3 separate regions of the Homo sapiens genome follow, and regions 1 and 3 are each linked to region 2. The links are contacts of gene promoters, found by promoter capture Hi-C in blood cells and fetal thymus (Javierre and others, 2016). All regions are on one chromosome and are shown on one strand. Each heading gives the region's core, a stretch centred on a gene start or on the middle of the fragment in contact. The rest is flanking DNA. Distances are from core to core; before and after follow the strand shown. Region 1 has its middle 21 kb from the start of ARL8B. Region 2 holds the start of EGOT (eosinophil granule ontogeny transcript). Region 3 has its middle 67 kb from the start of ARL8B.

Region 1 (4,233 bases), core at 577-3,076, 350 kb before region 2:
ATGCAAATCAATTCGATAATATGCAAAGTTACTTTGAATCAAAGCATAAACATACAAACTGGCTGGGTAAGGTGGTTCATGCCCATAATCCCAGCATTTTGGGAGGCTGAGGCAGATGTATCATTGAGGCCAGGAATTCAAGACCAGCCTGGGCAACATGGCAAGACCCCATCTCTAAAAAATAGAAAAAGAAAAACCACGATATACAACCCAAAATAGATGGACGACATTGTGAAAGTGGTCAGAATCAAAATGGTGTCAGCCAGGTGCAGTGGCTCATGCCTGTAATTACAGCACTTTGGGAGGCCAAGGTGGGCAGATCATCTGAGGTCAGGAGTTTGAGACTAGCCTGGCCAACATGGTGAAACCCCATCCCTACTAAAAATACAAAAATTAGCCAGGTTTGGTGGCAGGTGCCTGTAGTCTCAGCTACTCAGGAGGCTGAAGCAGGAGAATCAGCTGAACCAGGGAGGTGGAGGTTGCAGTGAGCCGAGATCGCACCACTTCACTCCAGCCTGGGTGATAGAGCAATGTTAAGAAAACACTGACAAATAGAGCCAGTAAAGACCATGAAGAGAGGGTTCTTATTCTTTTATGCCTGATAATAAAAGAGACTCTACAAAAACTACAATCTCACACAAAGGCCATGTCAACCTGACACAAAAAATACTCCTGCAAGGACATCTGCCCAGTAACTGCCTGTCCAACCTCAGACTGGCATCACCCTTGCTATTGATCTTTGTAGCCAAGGATGGTTCTTTCAAAACAATTATGTAATCCTCTTCATTTCTTTCCTTTAAAAACCTTTTTCTTCCTTTACTTCTCTAAATACACACACAGTTTACTATGGTATGTATATTTCCATCCCAGTGCTCTATTCCCAAATATCTTTTTTCCTTTAGAGAGCCTCTCTCTGTTAGTTAGGTTGACAGCATTCAGGTATGAAGCAAAAGGAGTATTCATTCACATACGCAGTAGCTTCAGATCTGTTTGATCTCGTCTCCATGTAGGTTCTGGAGATGGGAAAAAATGACATTGGTTATCAATACTACTGTGGCCATATTTGTTACTGCAACGTCTAAGCTTCTATGCATGACCCTGCACTCAAGACTTCAGAAATGTCTGTTTTTTAAGAGATTTCTGTGTGTAGAGGCAATTGTAAAATATTTACTGCAGAAACAAGCTCACTTTTAGGCTTGGGACCAGGTTCTTTGTAAAAATATTGCCTGATAACCAAACAATATGTTTTCAGTGTGGCTGTTCTGATCCATTTTTAAAAGATATTTACAGAGTGAATATTAATTTCTTTCTGAATTTAATGCAAGACAGCTTCCAGTTTTCACCTCCCAAATACTTGATTTACAGTTTTGTCTCCTTCACATTTTTCATTTTTGCCCTTTCTTTCTCTTTCCTTTCTTTCTTCATTTCTTTCTTTTTCTTTCTTTCTTAGACAGAGTCTTGCTCTGTCACCCAGGCTGGAGTGCAGTGGCACCATCTCAGCTCACTGCAAACTCCACCTCCCAGGCTCAAGTGATTCTCCTCCCTCAGCCTCCCGAGTAGCTGGGATTGCAGGCACGCGCCACCATGCCCAGCTAATTTTTGTATTTTTAGTAGATACAGGGTTTTGCTGTGTTGGCCAGGCTGGTCTTGAACTCTTAAGTGATCCACCTGCCTCGGCCTCCCAAAGTGCTGAGATTACAGGCGTGACCCACTGTGCCTGGCCTTCATTTTTGTCTCTTTAATGTCAAGATTGGTTATTTTATCTTCAAAACAGATGATTTTTTTTTTTTTAGATTGAGTTTTGTTCTTGTCACCCAGGCTGGAGTGCGATGGTGCTATCTCGGCTCACCAAAACCTCCGCCTCCCAAGTTGAAGTGATTCTCCTGCCTCAGCCTCCCGAATAGTTGGGATTACAGGTGCATGTCACCACGCCTGGCTTTTTTTTTTTTTTTTTTTTTTTTTTTGTATTTTTAGTAGAGATGGGGTTTTGCCATGTTGGCCAGGCTGGTCTCGAACTCCTGACCTCAGGTGACCCACCTGCCTCGGCCTCTGAAGTGCTGGAATTACAGGCATGAGCCACCATGCCTGGCCAAAGCAGATGATTTTTTAAATTATAAAACGTATTCAACATATGCAGAAATACAAAGAAGCATTTTGAAATTATTTGAGGTCAACAAAATTCTACTCTTTGGATGCAGCTTAGCTAAATAAATTGGGTGCTCTTGTTGAATGAAAATAGATGATGGGAAATGCCTACCATTTGACTTTATGAGGATAAGCAAGAGTTACTCATGATGCTTGAAGCTGGGGGTAAATTCTATTAATAATCCATGACTGCCCTGGCACATGTCAATTACTACATAAAAGGTCACATGCAATGTCAAATCCAAAGATTTGGAGAAAAAAAAAGTGTTTAGTTCCCAAGAGAACAGTGATAGCTTAACAACGTAAAACATCTAGGTATAAAAGCATTAAATTAGTACTGTGAAAACAATACATTGAGGACTTACAGTAATACCTGGAAGTTCCTTCTGAGGTACATATAAACAGAATCACGGAAGAAGCTTTTCATTTTACCTGTTTTATGGCCTTATAGATTTCATGAACCAAATGGAAATTGAATCTCTATTCCACATCCCATCCTTTATCTCTAGATAAGACAAAATCAATACCTGCTTTTTTTTTTTTTTTGAGACTCTCATTCTGTCACCCAGGCTGGAGTGGAGTGGCATGAGCTCAGCTCACTGCAACCTCTGCCTCCCAGGTTCAAACAATTCTCCTTCCTCAGCCTCCTGAGTAGCTGGGATTACAGACATTCACCACCACACCCAGCTAATTTTGGTATTTTTAGTAGAGAGGGGATTTCACCGTGTTGGTCAGGCTGGTCTCCAACTCCTGGCCTCAAGTGATCTGCCCACCTCGGCCTCCCAAAGTGCTGGGATTACAGGCATGAGCCACCATGGCTGGCCTCAATTCTTTTTTTCTTTCTTTTTGAGACAGAGTTTCTCTCTTGTTGCCCAGGCTGGAGTGCAATGGAGTGATCCCAGCTCACTGCAACCTCCACCTCCTGACTTCCAGCGATTCTCCTACCTCAGCCTCCTGAGTAGCTGAGATTACAGGTGCATGCCACCACGCCCAGCTAATTTTGTATTTTTTTAGTAAGGATGGGGTTGCACGACGTTGGTCAGGCTGTTCTTGAACTCCTGACCTCAAGTGATCCACCTGCCTCAGCCTCCCAAGGTGCTGGGATTACAGGCATGAGCCACCGCACCCTGCCTCAATTCTTATTTTTAAGGCAGAGTTTTAGTGTCCACATTTGTTAAGCCACATACAAGGAAATCATGTCTCAACTAATTTTGGATGTTGCCTGTCTTCATCTTGTACATGAAACTCCAGCAGATACACTATTGGCATTCATCATCTTGTCAAACCCTTCACACATTCTTCGAGCCAATCAAATTTAGGGTTTTTTGTTGTTGTTGTTACTGTTGTTTTGAGACAGAGTCTCACTCTGTTGCCCAGGCTGGAGTGCAGTGACACCATCTCGACTCACTGCAACCTCCGCCTCCTGGGTTTGAGTGATTCTCCTGCCTCAACCTCCCGAGTAGCTGGAATTACAGGCATGTGCCACCATGCCCGGCTAATTTTTATATTTTAAGTAGAGACAGAGTTTCATCATGTTGGCCAGGCTAGTCTTGAACTCCTGACCTCAGGTGATCTGCCCGCCTCTGCCTCCCAAAGTGTTAGGATTACAGGTGTGAGCCACCACTCCTGGCCTCTCAACAGTTTTTATGTCAATAAAAGAAGGTGTGGGATTAGTAGATTTGACGACGATTTGTTTTTTCCTTGTCACATTGGACTTCTAGATGCCATTTAAAATGGGTTTAGAAGATGGGGACATATAGATGTTTCTTGGCCTGAGTCTCCTAACATTAGAGGTGGGCGAGAGAAAGCAAGACTAGGAGGAGACTGGCTGTTGACTCCAAGGCACTGCCAACCACCTTGGTAGTGGCATTAGCTGGATTTGTGGCTGCTGAAGTATTCCGGGAGGAGTTATCTGAAAAATGTTATGATTTGAAAAATTGTATGATTTGAATGAATCTATGTGTGTAGGAGCAGTGCCAGAAGCGGTAGCCCCAGCCTGCGCCTGTCCACCATTGCTCTGCTGATGTCCCCTCCTTCAGTGTGGTGGCTTGTCTCACCGGATGCTAGGTGTGTGGAGAACTACTGGCT
Region 2 (3,949 bases), core at 857-3,356:
ACACTGGCTTAGGTGGCAAAGCATCAAGCAAAGCAAGTGCCTCCTTGATGAAGACTGCAGTCACCCCCAGTCAACCCTAGTCCTTCCCAACTCAACTGACTCTCGGGTACAGCCGAGTCTGGTCCCCAGCAGAATGCTCTGGGACTCTTCATGTCTCCCCACCCTGCATCCCCATCTTGCTGTGTGCTGGCCCACCAGGTAACTTCCACACGGCCACAGAGAGCATCCCTGGCAGCTGACAGTAAGATGTACAGATGGCCAAGCGGTTAGAGCAGGGCAGGGTGAAATCACACAGCACTCATCTGGGTAAAGCTGCTTTGTATATTAGGGCTTTGGCGGCGGCAGCGCATATCCAAGCAGGGGACAGGCCCAAGCCAACTTGGTGCCCTTTAGAAGCACCGACTAGGGATCGGCGGGAACCACAGAGATCACCTCATCCAGCCCCGACTTGATGACAAGCCCATCACCCTGGTGGAGCAGATACTTTCCGCAGCTCTGCCCCTGACCGACCACCATGGGGTAGACCGCGTTAGCTTCCTTCACTCAGCTCCTCCAACATCCCAAGCACAAGCCAACCCTCTTCTGAAATACTCTTGCCCTCTGCTACTCTTCACACAGCTCCTTCTCTTCGCATCTGTTGGGTCTCAGCTTGAACGGTATCTCCCCAGAGAAGCCCTCCCTGGCCACGCTTCGTGGCGCCTGTTTGCTTCCCCATCACACTTCTCTGAAGCTCTGATTTAGCTGATGATGAGCTGATTTCCTAGCTCTGTCTCCCACAAGACTGTAAGCTCCTGGAGGGCAGGGGCTATGTTGGTCTCATCCCTGACTGTATTGACGCCAATGTGTATAGCACCTGACACCCAGGGAGTGCTCAGTAAGTAAACATCTGCTATATTAAGCCGGCTGTGGTGACACAAGCCAGTAGTTCTAGCTACTCCGGAGGCTGAGACAGAAAGATCTCTTCAGCCCAGGAGTTCAAGGCCAGCTTGGTCAACACAGTAAGGCCTCTTCTCTCTTTTTAAAAAATTTACTATATTAATGAATGAACAATAATCCTGAAGGAGGTGCAATTCCGAAACACTCAAGCCAAGCTTTGCATCCATGGCAGCTGAAGTATAACTTTATGGCCAGAAGAAGCCTGCATGTGAAAGCTCAAAGTCCTGCTAAGTGGGAATATGCAGCACACCGCAGACCAGCCAAAGGCAGCTGATGTGGTGTTGTCACCTCTACGGGCTTATCCGGTTTTTGCACGTAACTCTGTGATGGGCTCAGCCTGGCTGAGGATCCTTAATCCATCGAGTTAACTGTTAACTACCCCGGCCCCAGTGACACAGCAGCTTGCATGATTAACTACAGCCCGGGAGGGATGATCATTTGTGCACCTTCCGTCTCCAAACCTGGCTCCCTCCCCAGACTTGATAGCTACAAGCTCTGGGCTCAACAGTTTGTGGGTTTGTGTTGCAAGGAGGCTAATAAAAACATATTTCTCAAATACCATATGGTGAGGGCAACTGCAACACATCCTCCTCGAAGAGCAATAAAATATATATATTTTTAAAGTCCTGAATTCCAGGGGAAAAACGAGGCTTGAAGACTTCAGAGGGTTTACAGGACTATCCCCTTCAGTGTCAGAGCCATCTTGATCAAAAGTCTAAAACCCAGGAATAGGAAATTGGTAGAAACTTTGAGAGAGCCTCTGACAGTTTCAAAGAGGAACTCAGAGGACCTCAGGAAATGTGAGCGGGCATAGATTTCTCCGTGAAAAGGAGGGTCAAGGCAGAAGAACCAGAGGCAACTGTGAACATCAAGTCAGTTCTCAGGGAAGCAGGGGATCCAAGTGTGTACATGAGGCGCCTTCACTGTCCCTGCATCAGGAATCTAGCTGTTGGCACCTTATAATGAGAAAACAGTCTCAACCATGAAGTTAACTCTGCTGGAAGATTTCCAAAGGGAAAGTCCCTCCCGTTACTCAGAGGGGAAAAAAAAATTACCTACTTGGTCTGGAATCCGGGGATATTTTATGCAGATGTCTCTAACAGAAGTTAATAAAGGGAAGTCAGCTTGCCTCTGATTATTCAAACAGGCTACTGCTATTAAGGATTGCACAACTTCTGGGCAAGGCAGAGGTGGGTTTGGCTTTTTAAAAATTTTTTCAGCCTGTCCTCATGGAACTACATATTCTTTTCTAAGAACTTTTCATCCTAACCTCCCTACTCACATCTTCTAAGTGTCTCTGCTCTGGTGGGAATGTGATGGACAACACAGAGCCATCTCAGAAGCCTCTGTGGCCACCACCAGGCCGGCCAGGGTGCAGGGGGCCACTCCCTGGGCAGCCATAGGGTTCTCAGCAAGGTGCATTCGTCGTCCCTGCTGAGAATCTGATGGGGCAGCATTTTTTTTTTTAATTAAATGCAAGCTGAGTCATTTCAACCTGCAACCTTCAGGTAACAGGAGTTACCCAAGCTCCAGGAATTATGATTGTGGGGTAAACCCATTCTCTTGTTTTCTTGCGGTTCTATTTTATAACGCACTAGAGGAGACAGAGACGTCATTGCTTCACCCAGGGCAAGAGGACAAAGGAGGATGCATGGAAATACAAACAGCCCTTCTCCTCCAGGCCATACCGACTGTCCAACTAGCAACAGACTTCACCTGGTTTTGGAGCAATCTGAATTTGGAATATGCCAGAGAAAACTTCTATCAGGCAAGATGGAAGACTCCTAGGATAGGTCTCTCTCATGGAGGGATTGGTAATAAAAAAATCATGGGAAAAGAAATAAGGGAGGGTGGAAAAAACACACCTTAGAAAACAACTTCTGATGTCCCGGGGCTACACAATGGGGGAGCTGAGCACTTAGGAAGGAGAGGGAAAATATTCTGTTTCCGGAGACAGCTCCAAGAATCATGAGTAGGTGTGAGAAACAAGGAAGCTTACAGATTTAAAAAAAAAAAGAAAGAAAGAAAGGAAGGGGGCAAAAGGAAGGAGTCAGGGAAGGGGGGAGTGAGATCTTTGAGAGACAGGGGAATTAAAAAACACCATAGCAACAACGCAGTCCACCTACCCTGGCCGCCCACCCACAGCCAGATTCTTTACTGACGCATTTGAGAACAAGCTGGTTCCTACCAGCTCAGGAAGGTGAGCAAACCCAGAGAGCTCATTAAATCCCTTCTCAGCGACTCTTGTCTGCCTGCAGATAGTGAGCAAGGAGGATATAAATAGAAGTTATATAACATCTCTTTGTTGATTCCTGTGCTTACCAAAAAAAAATGCAGCATGACCTTGTTTTTCTTTAGAGTTTGCCTCGGCCTGCTGGTTGAGGACTTTAATCCAGATAGGAATCATCTTGAAGTTTAAACAGCAGGATATAGATTTCCAAGTTAAGGGTGCTCTGCATGGCCATCCAAGTTAGGAACCCACAGGGTCAAGTCCTCCTCCGCGGATTAAAAAAAAAAAAATCCACCAGCTCTAAAACAACAACAGCAGGTATGGAATCTTGTGGCTTCCTCTTAGAACATCTCCTGAGGTAAATTAAGGAGTAAATTTGATACCCAAGAGCAAAGCATCATTAAAATGGCATCTTGGGTTTTCTAAAGGAGGTTCGAGCACCACAGGTATATTCAAAGGTAACTGGTGGTTTCCACATACCCTCCAGGCCTAAGCAGTTGTCTTTTTGTTCCTTAACAGGCACGATGGTAAGAGTCCAGTGGATGGAAAAGGCCTCCTCCTTAAAGATGGTGATGGAAACGAGCACTGCACAGGGAAACACAAATCAGGTCCCCTGAAATCCAGCCCAACCTGGCCAGACCCTCCAGTGCCCATCAGGGCTTATGAACAGGGTGCTTCAGTGTCTTTGTTAGGGGTGGTTAAAAAGGAGCACGTGCTTATAGGGGATGCTGCTGAGCTCCATGATTTTGACTTCCTGTCTAACCTGTTGATGCTACAAAACTC
Region 3 (4,377 bases), core at 800-3,299, 300 kb before region 2:
GTTTCTCAGGCATGAATCCTAGGTGTGACGCTTTAGTGATCCCATTGTAACACAGACACACACACACACATGCGCGCACACACACGCATGCATCACTCCATCAGCAAATCCTATTGGTTCTACCTCCACAAGACATCTTAAATCCACTTATTTCTCCCCATCTCCACAGCACCTCCGTCATCCAAGCTGCCATCCTCTCCTGCCTGGACACTGGCAATGCCTCTGATTTGGTCTCCATGCTTCCACATGGATTGCCAAGCAAGCTTTGATGGGATCGTCCTGTATTTTCGTGTATAAATTCCAGCACCAAAAAAAATATGGCTTCAAGTTCTTTTTTTGTTTGTTTGTTTGTTTTTTAGACAAAGTCTCGCTCTGTCGCCCAGGCTGGAGTGCAGTGGCGACAGTAGTGCTTGATGTTTGTGTTTATATTGAAAAAAGAGTTAGGATCTAGGTTCAAAAAATAAGTTTTTTACCTGCACAAATGTCTGCAAAAAAGAGTAATTTCATTTCCTTAAAACTCTGGTTTTTAGTCTGGCCACAGTCCCTATTTCTTTTTTTTTCTTTCTTTTTTTTTTTTTTTTTTTTTTTTTTTTGAGACAGAGTCTCACTCTGTTGCCCAGGCTGGAGAGCAGTGGTGCGATCTCAGCTCACTGCAACCTCTGCCTCCTGGGTTCAAGCAATTCTCCTGCCTCAGCTGGGAATATAGGCATGCGCCACCACGCCCAGCTAATTTTTATATTTTTAGTAGAGACGGAGTTTCACCATGTTGGCTAGGCTGGTCTCGAACTCCTGACCTTCAGTGATCCACCCGTCTCTGCCTCCCAAACTGTTGGCATTATAGGCATGAGCCACTGCACCCAGCCAATTTCTTAAGAGAAATGTTTTTGTAGCATTGCCTTTGCTACCCTGAATTGAACCTGATAGATAGTAAAATCTACTGATACACATAATATCTAAAAATAAATATAAAGTCCTGGCTGTCATATGAAGGAGAAATAAATGAAAATAACTTATAGTACAACAACATGTATTTCAGTATGAAAATCTTCAAGCATGACTCTGACCGTACAGGAAGATGGTGAAGTAGTCAGATGTTTGCCATCTACTTTAAATAAGTGCATCTGAATTTCAGAGTAGTGAGACAATATTCAAAAAATACTGCTGACCCTTTTACTTTAAATCTGCTATTTCAAAATAATGGTCAGTTAGGCATACCTAAAGTCTCCATGAATGAAATAGCTGTAAGTGACGACTGGTACAATTGCATGGCACTATCGGCTCAGATTCCAAGGGTGGTGCTGCTGTCAATGACATCATTTTCCAAAATGGCAAACAAGTCATGGTGAAGTCCGAGGGCCTTCCTTCTATTTCCACAGTAGCAGCATTCCTGGGAAGTTTGGTGTTTGTGTTTATATGAAAAAAAAAAGAGTTAGGATCTAGGTTCAGAGAATGAAAAATGTTTTTTACTTGCACAATGTCTGGTAGGACATTACAAATCTTGGGGGATACAAGTCCGTTTTTGCCCCATAAGCCAGTTTCTCACTGGCCCTCAAAGCAAATAGGACATCAGACTTCCCCATCTCCACCGCCACACCCCTACAATCCTGTGACAACCAAAAGTACCCTCACAAGTAAACATCCCCTAAGGATGGTACCACCCTCTTTGAGAAACACTTCCTTGAAGTCATAAGTTGTAGGAGAACTTCAGGTCTTTCAATAGTTCCTTGGGTTACCACAATCCCTACCACATACCCTATCACTCAGCTTGGAATCAAAGGGTTAGCAGCAGGCGAGTGGAGTGGACTGTGAAGACTTGCAGATACCTCCAGGAAAGAAAAAAACAACTGCCCCTTTGAGCTATAGGCTGAGCCTCAGGCACCCGGTGAAACTCCAGCTCCAAAGAGCACACAGTGCTAAGGAAATAGGTTGTAAAAGGAAGAAACTAGGCAAAGAGATGAGTGGGACGGAGAGGCCCTGCAGGACACAACAGGGTATGTAAGAACAGGAAGGTGAGCTGTAGCCACAGAAGAGGAAGGGGTATAGAGCAGGGTTCCACTCCCAAGACAAGGCCCCAGTTATAGAAGAATCACAGTCTCAGGATACTTCCAGAAATTCACAGACAAAGAGATGGGTGGAGGAGACAGTGAGCACTCGTTAAGAACTTAAGTTTTGGGACAAGGCATGGTGGCTCATGCCCTATAGTTCCAGCACTTTGAAAGGCCAAGGTGGGAGGATTGCTTGAGCCCAGGAGTTTGAGACTAGCCTGAGCAACATGGCAAGACCCTGTCTCTATAAAAAATAAAATAAAACATATTTTAAAATTTTATAAAGAACTTGGGCTATGGGATCAGATGGGATCAGAGAGGTTCAAATTCTAGCTCCACCACTGACGAGAAGTGTGACCTTGGTTGGGCCCATTGTACTTTTTTTGAGGCAAAGTCTTTCTCTGTCACCCAGGCTGGATTGCAGTGGTGCAATCTCAGCTCACTGTAGCCTCCACCTTCCAGGTTCACTAGATTCTCCTGCCTCAGCCTCCTGAGTAGCTGGGATTATAGGCGCCCACCACCACGCCTGACTAATTTTTTTTTCTATTTTTAGTAGAGACAGGGTTTCACCATGTTGGCCAGGCTGGTCTCAAACTCCTGACCTCAAGTGATCTGCCCACCTTGGCCTTCCAAAGTGCTGGGATTATGGGCATAAGCCACTGTGCCCAGCCAGGCCCGTTGTTTAACCTCTCTTTGACTCAGCTTCCTCATCTATAAAATGGGCACAAATAACAGCCCATATTGAGTACAGTTGTTGCGAAATTTTAGTGAGATCACAGGGAAAGTGCTTAGCATGGGTGACCTGTAAGCCGCTCAGGGGCAGGGTCCTCTCCAGCTTTGCTCACCTTTGTACCCGTAAGTACTTGACACCAAGTCACACAATCAACTTTAGTTGAATGAACTGATGAAGAAGGGACCTATGGCAAGTAGCCGTTCTCACTACTATGAACGAAAACAAGAGGGGGAGCCTGTTACTGGAGCTGAGGTAGGAAGAGGGGACTTGGTTTTTTTACTGGGACACAAGATCACAGGCAGTGCTAGTTGCAAGAAGAGGAAGTCAGATCACCAGAGTAACTGAACCAAGGCTTCTGAAATCTCTGAGCAAGGAAGCACTGGGATCAGCACGTGGGAGTGCAGCTGAGCCCCTGGGAGAAAGCCACGCAGCCCCAGCAATGGTTAGAAGAGACCAAAGGAGACAGAGTGCTCCCGGGCACCAGAAATCCCTGGGAGGAGGGCTCAGGAGCACTCCCATGGGAGCACTCCATTGACATGAAAACCTGCGGCCCCATGACAGGTAGGGCAGGCCTGCTTCCTCCCCTCTAAGAATTGGACAAATAAGAATTAAAGAGAAGCAGGATGGGTGCCATGGCTCACACCTGTAATCCCAGCACTTTGGGAGGCTGAGGTGGGTGGATTACTTGAGGTCAGGAGTTCGAGACCAGCCTGACCAACTTGATGAAACCCCGTCTCTACTAAAAATACAAAAATCAGCTGGGCGTCGTGGCACACGCCTGTAATTCCAGCTACACGGGCAGAGTTGCTTGAACCAAGGAGGAGGTTGCAGTGAGCTGAGATTGAGCCACTGCACTCCAGCTGGGCAATAGAGTGAGACTCTGTCTCAAAAAAAAAAAAAAAAAAGAATTAAAGAGGAGACACACAAAGTGAGAGGAAATTAGGCCAGCCTTGGCTCCTGGCCACCTCTGCAGCCCCACACCACATCACTCTCCCCTTTGCGTTCAGAGCTTCAGCCACACTGGCCATTTCCTTATTTCTCAAAAATGCTAAGCTTCCCCACCCACGTCCCCACCACACATTCTTTGCCTGGCTAATTTCTGCTCACCCTTCAGGTCTTGGCTCAAATATCATTTCCTCGGAGAAGTTGTCCATGAACCCCCAGACTAGGCGGGGTGGCCTTCACTCACTCTTATACTGCTCTGTTGGAGGTGCCTCCTTCTTGGCATCTCTCACTGTGGTTGTTGGGGTAATAATTTGTTCAGTGTCCATCTCTTCCCCTAGTCTGTACATTCTTGAGGGCAGGCACTATGTCAAATCCATGACCCCATATCCTCAGGGGTGTAGCTCTGTGCCTGGCACAGGGTTAGCCCTCAGTGAGTGTTAATAGAAAGGAACATGGATGGGAAGGGAGAAGGAGCCCACAACTTCACAGCAGGGTTTACTGGGTTTGTCCTAAAAGATAATCAGATCCATAAACAAGCTCCACTCTTAAGAAAACCAGGCCACCAACATTCCTGACTGAATATTCATTTTGCAGCAATTTCTCACCCTATTTCAGGGCCTAGCTCACAGAAAAGATTTATGTTGTCCTCTCCTC

The links. The method cuts DNA at HindIII sites, captures the fragments that hold promoters and counts their contacts. A CHiCAGO score of 5 or more calls a contact.
Region 1: a fragment that was not itself captured here is called in contact with the fragment with the promoter of EGOT in region 2 in 15 of 17 cell types (activated CD4 T cells, M2 macrophages, M1 macrophages and 12 more); the score reaches 21.0 in activated CD4 T cells.
Region 3: a fragment that was not itself captured here is called in contact with the fragment with the promoter of EGOT in region 2 in 17 of 17 cell types (activated CD4 T cells, M0 macrophages, M1 macrophages and 14 more); the score reaches 32.7 in activated CD4 T cells.

The regions. Positions count from the first base shown.
Region 1 is chr3:5,099,564-5,103,796 of GRCh38, reverse strand. It overlaps the pseudogene CD24P5. Among named protein-coding and RNA genes, the nearest start is that of ARL8B, 21 kb to the left of the region's middle. The HindIII fragment of the contact is 1,481 bases long and covers 1,086-2,566 here.
Region 2 is chr3:4,749,747-4,753,695 of GRCh38, reverse strand. EGOT (eosinophil granule ontogeny transcript) reads left to right here and starts at 2,106. Exons shown (of 2, transcript NR_004428.1): 1 at 2,106-2,750; 2 at 3,686-3,949. All of the region lies in intron 44 of ITPR1 (inositol 1,4,5-trisphosphate receptor type 1), which reads right to left. The HindIII fragment of the contact is 1,839 bases long and covers 1,094-2,932 here.
Region 3 is chr3:5,053,136-5,057,512 of GRCh38, reverse strand. No RefSeq gene overlaps it. Among named protein-coding and RNA genes, the nearest start is that of ARL8B, 67 kb to the left of the region's middle. RefSeq lists an enhancer at 2,067-2,126. The HindIII fragment of the contact is 3,568 bases long and covers 266-3,833 here.